Regions from separate parts of the Homo sapiens genome. Here region 1 is linked to region 2. The links are contacts of gene promoters, found by promoter capture Hi-C in blood cells and fetal thymus (Javierre and others, 2016). All regions are on one chromosome and are shown on one strand. The core of a region is centred on a gene start or on the middle of the fragment in contact, and the rest is flanking DNA. Distances in the headings are between cores, read along the strand shown.

Region 1 (3,797 bases), core at 1,298-3,797, 570 kb before region 2:
CAAGTGCCTTGGTTGCGATCAGCAAAAACACCTCCAAGGGGCTGGTTCTGAGTGCATGAGAATCCCCGGGGGGCCTGAGAAACACAGAGGGCTGGGCTGCTGCCAGGCCTGGGACCTTCCAGGAGCTGCTGTTTATGGGATACTGAGGCTGTGGGCCTTGCACTGCAGGATGCCCTGCCCTGCCCTGGGGTGTTGATGTGAACAGACCAGGGAGGACAGGGTGGTGGGAGCACTTGAAGAAGGCACAGCACTGTAAGAGCAGAGGAGGCCAGATGATGCCCCCCCGGGCCCCAGTATGCAGCAGGTGGATGTGGAGAAGAATGGGGGCACTTGGTGGACTGATTCCGTTCCTACAGCAGAACCTGAAGGTGCTGAGAACAGTGGAGCCGCCTCCTCCTGGGCGCTACCGTGGCTGCACGCCTCACAGCCAGGGACCCAGTGCCTCTGACCACACTTCTCAGCAAATGCTGTGTGGGCAGAAATGTTGAAAAGTAACCTTGGTGGCCGACGGAGAGGTCAGGTGAGCCTAGGGAGGGCATCTCCTCATGGAGTCTCTGGTTTGTTCTAGGGTCCCTTGGGGAAACCAGGCCTTCCAGGAATGCCCGGTGCTGACGGACCCCCGGTGAGTAGCCCTGCCCACCTCATCCCTCCATACTCTCCCCACCTCCACCCTGCGGATAGGGCTGCAGGCCCAGGCTCTTTGGGGTTGTTGTTGGACGGCATTGACTCATTCTGGCTCTGTTGATGAAGACCCGTTTGGTCTCCAGTTGGACTGCTCGGTCATTCTTGGGTTCTGGACACCCTTAACATCATGGATTTTAATCAACGAGTGGCGATTGCGCGAGTAGGAATATTAGCTATTTATTAGGTTGTGCTGATTAATTACCGGAAGTCAGGCCTGCGTGCTGAGCCGTGAGGAGGGCTGGGCCGGGCTCCAGGCCATCGCTTGCGTCCCCAGGGTTGGAAGCGAAGAGGCAGGGTACGTGGTGTGTATTTTTAGTGTTCACACACTGAGAAGGGAGGTGGTGAGCAAACGCGTTTGCAGTGTGTGCGCGCACAGCTGTGGAGCCAAATTAGATTCTGCCTGGAAATAGCGAGTTGGTGACAAATCCAATCTGTGTCTAAGCTGTGTGGAGGGGGGAGGTGTGAGGAAGTAGAACACACTCAGAATGCGTGCGTGCGTGCACACGTGCGTGTACATGAGTGTGAGCTGATTTGCACCCACACCCTCTGTAAGTGCCTGCTGTGGTTTTGGTTTTGATTATTCCGTTAATGCTGAGTCTGTTTCACAAACGAGATTAGCAGAATTAATTATTGAAGATGCAGTATGCTTTATGGTTTTAATAACACTGTTAAAAACTAAACAAGGAAGTTAAATATGTTGATGATTATCGGTGACTGCTCACCACACAGCATCCCTCAGGCCGAGTCAGTTGGCCCAGTGACTCCCACATCACAAACTGCCCTTTCTTGGTCAGAAGAAGCAGAGTGGAGCCTTCTCATCCCCACGCGCGCAGCTGTGGGGCCCCGTGGTCACCTGGCCACATGGGAGTTTGCATACTGAGTGGTTCATCTTTTCCAATGTGTTGTGTCCTTTAATTTACATTTATATTTCATTGCCCTTTCTAATGATCAGAACAGCACATCTTGTTATAGAAAATTAGGAAAATAAATAAAATTACAGTAAAATTATAGCCACCTTTGATCTCATCTCCTGATTTAGCCATTGACAGCGGGTGGACGTGTGTCCTTCCAGGCTAGTTTTCTGTTCCCGTGCTGCTGGCTGTGGTGTCCATGGAGTATGGGCCGCAATCTGTGGGGACAGTGGCTGGGCCCAGAGCCCTGCGGGGAGGAAGGGGACCTGGGTGTGAAGCAGGCCACACGAGGAAGGGGGGCCTGGGTGTGAAGTGGGCTGTACCCCTCTTTCCTTCTGCGGGGAGGAAGGGGGCCTGGGTGTGAAGGTGGCTGCACCCCTCTTTCCTTCTGCGGGGAGGAAGGGGGCCTGGGTGTGAAGGGGGCTGCACCCCACCTTCCTGCCAAGATCATTCTCTCGGCCCTCAGCTGACCTAACTTGTTCTCCCTGGAATTCCCCTCCCCATGTTGAAACCTCCAAAGAATTGGGGTCCCTAAAGAGCCTGCAGTTTCCTTTTATATTCTTTGGGGGAAGGAAAGGCCTTTAAGGTGTCCCTTCCCCAGCCCGAATTTAAAGCTTAAAATGTGAGCGTAGGTGGACCCCATTCACATGAAGGTGCTTCGAGCAAAAGGAAGCAAAGGGTAGGCCCAAAGACAGCCCCAGCCATCTCCCACGAAAATCTGGAGGAAAGAAAAGATGTTTAAAAATTCTCCTTTGCAAAGGCAGCACATTGAGGGTAAACCCTACAGAGAGAGTTTTCTTTTTTTCTTGTTTTGGTTTTGGTTTCAAAGAAAGGAAGATTGCCTTAAAATCCATCAAGAGGTATGAGGCACTTCAGAGCAGACTCAGTGCCTAGAAATATGTTGTTGAATAAATCCTGATAGCACACGCTGGGGAAATGGCTAAGTGAATTATGGCTCAGTGGAATATATTCCTGGTATCACACGCTGGGGAAATGGTTAAGTGAATTATGGCTCAGTGGAATATTACAGAGCCAGTAAGAATTGAATTTAGACAAATACTCCGTGACATGAGAAAAATGCTCACAATGTAATATTAAATTAAAAATAGATCTACCATGCCAAGGGCGCATGCATATCTGCAGAGACGACAGATGATTCTATCATACAATTAGCCACAGCCACTCCGAGTGGTGAGGTGATGAAGGATTTTAATTCCTCTTCCAGTTGCCTAATTGTCTATGATGAACATACGTTACTTTTTTAATCAGAAAATATCAAATACAAATAATGTAAGCTTTATTATTTTCCCATTACAGAAGCACTGCTCATTATAGAATATTGGGAAACACACACAAGTAGAAAGAAAGGGGAAAGCGGCCCTGCCCGGCTTTGCAGGAAAATCAGTCGTGGTTATCTTGTTACGTTTCCTTTCTGCCTTTTCCTGTTCAAACATTTTTTAGTAAGGGAGCTTTGTGCTTCCCCCCACTGCTTTACTCTCATTCTCTATCTGTAACTGAAAATATACCTAAAGGAATTTGGCCTGGATGGGAATGGAGGCCGCCGTGATGCCGGCCGCTAACTCTGCTTGGTGCTCCCTGGGTGGGCGCAGTTCTGAGCCCCTTGCAAACGCTCTGTGCGTCTCCGCAGCGGCGCTGTGTGCAGATGTGCTGTTATCTCCAGCCTGGAACTGAGGAAATGACCACGTGGAGAGGCCTGGGGGCTTCCTCGAGCAGCCGGGGCTGGGTCTGCCCGGTCCAGAGCCGGGCTCTCGGCCCCCCTGCAGATCCACCCACTAGGTCCTTCACAGAAAGGTGTCTGTGGCTGATAGAAAGTGTAATAAAGGGCCACAAAGAACCCCTCCTGGCCACCCTGGACCAGGACACCCTCTAGTTGGCTCTGTTCAGGTCCAGCCCGGCCACTCTGAGGTGCTGGCGCCATGAGCCTTGTTTCCGGAAGGCGGCGTGGTGGCCAAGCACGTCCCCTCCCAGCTGGAGCAGCGGGTGAGGTCCCGCAGGTGCCTGGACTTCCTCAAAGCCTCCCTCAAGGGGAACTTTGCGCCCTCCCACTCACTTGCTGCTAGGATAGGCTGTCTGCTAGGATAGGCTGTCTGCAAAGGCATCAAACCCAATTGGACAGCTAATAAAAACTTAAAAGTCACACACGAACCATTTAATTGAGGCAACGAGACTTGGGTCTTCTTA
Region 2 (4,199 bases), core at 305-2,804:
AGGACAGCAGAGGCTGAGGACAGCAGAGGCTCAGCCCCACTTCCCCTGTGGTCCCTCACAAAGCCCCTCCCTCTTTCCAGACTCCTCCCCTCAGAACCTTCTCCGTCCGCCCACCGGCCAAGGCTCAGAGGGCTCTGGGGAAGGCGTGCGGGGTGGCAGGGCCCACCCAGGGTCCGGGTGCACCTGCAGGGCAGGCCCCGAGCTGCTCACCTCCCTGCTTTCCTCAGCCTCGAAGCAGCCAGGGCTCCTGGGCAGGGCGCCACAGCAGCCTCTATTTACCCCTCTGTAAAATGGGAAGAAAGTTCTCCCCAGGTGAGGCTGTCTCATGACTAAATCAGACACTCCAAGCTGATGCTCTGAAGCCACAGGTGTCCCTGCATCCCCATCACTAATACTGTCCTCTTTCCTACCATGGACAGGGGGCTCAGCGCCCAGGAAAAGAGCTCCACACTTTTCTAGCATCCCCTCGGGAGCTCTGGTTCCATAGAAGGGGGCTCCCAGTGTCCGATGGGGCTGAGCACAGCATGCAGCTGGGGCCCCCGTGTCCTAGGGATCCGAGAGCACACTGTTGGGCAGCAGCTCCTGGACGGGGCCCACCAGCCTTTGTGCAAACCAAGAAGGAGCTCGTCCCCTGGTACCAGGGCACCCAGCTGGCAAGCACAGGTGGCTGGACCCTGGCTCCCTCATTGGCACCTGCGGGGCCACATCGTGACCTTTGTGGGCCCCAGACACCATTCCCCCTGCACCTGATGGATCCATCGCTTTGCCCAGCCTTGGCTCTCGAGGTGACCTTCAAGGACTGCTGCAAGGACTGCCCCGCCAAGGAGCCTGGCACAGGCTGTTGGACACAACCCCAATTACTGACAGGTTCGCAAAGACACCCAAGCTGCAGGGCCTTGGCAGACGGGTAAGCAGCCTGATCTCGTCCAGAAATCTTGTCCACGTGCACCTCCCGGGAGCCCTCCTTCGGAGATGGCCGAGGCCTGATGCCCCAGAAGTCACTGTGTCCAGCTCCCACCTCTCCTGCCCCTCAACCCCTCAGTTCCTCCCTGGGAACCACCTGTCAGCTGCCCCAGCCTGGATTTGTGTTTTCACCCGGGAGTGACTCGGGGCCTCTGGTGGCCTGGGGAGATGGGGGAGCTTCCTGGGTCCAGGCACCAGCAGTCACCTCTGTCCCCAAGGAAGGCCCTGCCAAAGGGCCGGGCACCAGGTGCTCCACGTTTAGGCCAGGACTAGTTGATGGCTGCCCAGGCTCCCAATGACACATTCCCCTCCTCCGGGGTTGTCCCTGCTGGGCCTCTGTGCCAGCTGACAGCCAGAAGTCTGGTGATCGAGCCCGGTGGGGTCTCTGCCTGGGGAGGGATCCCTGGGTTTTGTCCCCATGCAGTGGGGGCTCAGGAAGTGCCCCCCAGCTTCCTCCTGCCTCTCAGCATTCCCAGCTGCCAGCACAGAGAGGCTGGGCTCAAGTCTTCTCCAAGGCCAGTGCCACCCTCCACCAGGTCCCACTGAGCCTCATGGGGCTGGTGGAGCCACCTGCCCACCTCAGCACTGCATCTCCAGCCAGGGCTGAGTGGCAGTGTGGGCACCGCGGCCCGGGACGACAGCCTGGGCTCAGAGTCAGGCTTGTGGCTTCGCCTCTCAGCTTGCGTCTCCTCCCCTGTGGGATGGGGGATTCCGTGGCACCCCCATGATGAACAGGATGCCATGGGCCTCAGCCCAGGGCAGACCTCAGTGTCCTTCCTGTGGCCGCTGCTGGAGGTGCGTGACCACAACACAGGTGTGTATCGATGTCACTTTGCGTCATGCCTGTGGGGAGGGCCCTCTCGCCCCATGGTCTCCATGGGGCCTCATCACACCTGGGAGGTAACTGGGGCATCTCAATTTTACAGATGAGTAAATGGAGGCTCAGAGCAGTTACAGGCTGAGGCTGAGACCTGGGCAGGTCTTTGTCATCTTGGAGTCCAGCACATACACAGGGCTAGCCTCCAATGGGCTAAAGGGAGCTGCCTCCTATACCTCCCTGTCCCCAGACACACACACAGAACCCCCACATATGCACAAGAGCACACGGCCACAGGAGTGTGTGCAGGTGTGTGCATGCATGCATGCGCATGCACACACATCCTTGCACAGAATGCACAAGGCACACACAGGCACAGGCGTGTGCACACACGTGTACACACACACATGCCTGCATGCATACCTCCCGGCTCCACAGAGGGGAGGGGGCATTTCCCAGGCAGGCTATGCTTCTCCAGCAGTGAGCGAACAAAATCTGTGCTCTGGGTGCCCAGAGCCCGGCAATGAGGGGATCTCACACCCTCCAGGGAGGGGACTCGTCCCCGCCACTGTGCTGACGCCTGGGTCTCCAGAGACCCTCCTGGAACTCCGCCAGGCCTTCCTGGGTTCCAGACAGGCCCGCCACGGGCATGACGCAGCGCCATCTAGCGGACAGCAGGGCTGCAGCGTGGACAGAACGGCCGGACGCCCAGTCCTGGGCTGGCGGCTGAGGAACAGCCTCACAGGGCAAGAGGGCAGGCAACACCTGCATCTTTCCGGCATAAGAACCTCAAGAAAAGCAAAGGAATATAAGCCTGTGTTCTTTGGAGCCACCGAAATCTCTGTTCTCATGGCAGTCGCTGAAAGTTTAAGGGAGCCGCCACCGCCCCAATGGGGTTGGTTTCTTTCTTCCCTGTTTTTAAAGATCTTTTAAAATGTCTAGAGAGACCCTGGGATCCAGTGCTGGACGGATGATGCAGGTTTGTGTGCATTTGGGTTCTTGCCCCACCCTCAGCCTCAGCCACAGCCACAGCATGGCTCCCTGGTGGTCTCGGGAGCAGGTGAACAGGGAGGTCCTGCTGTCGGTGCAGACCCCGCTCTCACGTCAGCCACTTTGCTGGGTAGGAATGAACTGAGACACTGCAGGGCACCCGCTAAGCCCACATCAAGCTCTAATTCCACAGTTATTTTGCAAAGAGGATAATGTTCCCCTGAGGACTCGCTGGATCATCTGCTCTCGGCCAGGGTGGCTGCAGGGCTGTGGGCAGCTGGTGCCTCTAGACAAGACATCTTCACCCCAAAACCCCAGGCCTGAAGTCCCAGGACCCCTTTCTCACCACAGTGACCACCAGGTGGCAGGTCAGGTGCAGAGGGGCCCTCTGCACCCCCAACTCTCAGGGGGATGGGACACCCACCACCCCTCAGGGCCTTCATCCCTCCTGTAAGTAGAGGCTTGCCTTTTGGATACCATGGCAGGGATCTCACATTCATGCCACACAGCAATTCGTGGGGACCTCAGAGATACGCGGGGAGGGCAAACAAGGCCCGCATCTGGAGTACAGCAGCGGGCTTGGCTGGAAGGATGTAAAGGGCACAGGCCGTCTGTCTCTACCCACAGCCCCTAGAGCCTGCAGCGTCGTGCTGCTGGTGAGAAAGACGGCGGCACCATCACATGCGAGAGACAGCTGTCTGTCGAGAGCCTGCTTGGGCTCCCAGGCTCCCTCATCGCCTGACACCCCCACGTGGGGAGGGGGCGATGACCTTTCACGTAGAGGAAGTTGAAAGCTGCTTTTTTCTTTTTGAATCTCATCTCCACTCAGGGCCACACAGAGAGGCTATTGTGTGTCACTTGCTGGGTTAGGAACAGACGGATCAGGGCTTCTATGCTGCGTCTGCCTGGTCCTGGGAGAGAGAAACTCACACAACCATCTGCCTGGAAGACCTGGGCTTCTCAGGCTAGAGGGTCTGCACATGTAGGTGTGTGTGCATGCATACATATGCCTGCGTGTGGATGTCTGTGCTTCACACAAACAAGTGTACTTGTGGGCATATGTGTGTGTGTGCCTGCATGTGCAGCTCTGGGTATGTGTGTGTGCGCATGCCCCTGAGTCTCTCTGCATGTGATGCATTTGTGCATGTGTGTGCCTGTGTGCCCGGGTCTGTGTCTATATATATGCATGCATGGATATGCATACGTATGTGCATTTCTGCACATGTGTGCGTATGCCTGTATGTGCCTGGCTATGTGCACACACATGTGAATGTCTGAGCAGCTCCAGAGGGAGGGCCACCACCCTGCATGGTGGACATTAGTTTGAGCCTGTGAGGACCAGTGTCCCCCAAAGCCCCTCAACTACAGCCCAGCCCAACCCAACCCGGAGCAGATCACAGGCCCCAGAGACATCTCCAACCCTCACACA

Evidence for each region. The method cuts DNA at HindIII sites, captures the fragments that hold promoters and counts their contacts. A CHiCAGO score of 5 or more calls a contact.
Region 1: a contact is called between a fragment that was not itself captured here and the fragment with the promoter of LINC02907 in region 2, in 1 of 17 cell types (monocytes). The highest score is 5.3, in monocytes.

What each region holds. Positions count from the first base shown.
Region 1 is chr9:134,767,842-134,771,638 of GRCh38, forward strand. It overlaps COL5A1 (collagen type V alpha 1 chain), which reads left to right. Exons shown (of 66, transcript NM_000093.5): 25 at 569-622. LOC124902301 (a long non-coding RNA gene) reads right to left here. Exons shown (of 2, transcript XR_007061843.1): 2 at 2,788-3,797. Among named protein-coding and RNA genes, the nearest start is that of MIR3689C, 80 kb to the right of the region's middle. The HindIII fragment of the contact is 681 bases long and covers 2,208-2,888 here.
Region 2 is chr9:135,341,695-135,345,893 of GRCh38, forward strand. It overlaps LINC02907 (long intergenic non-protein coding RNA 2907), which reads left to right and starts at 1,555. Exons shown (of 3, transcript NR_171012.1): 1 at 1,555-1,777; 2 at 2,328-2,759; 3 at 3,600-4,199. RefSeq lists an enhancer at 596-1,308. The HindIII fragment of the contact is 15,144 bases long and covers 1-4,199 here.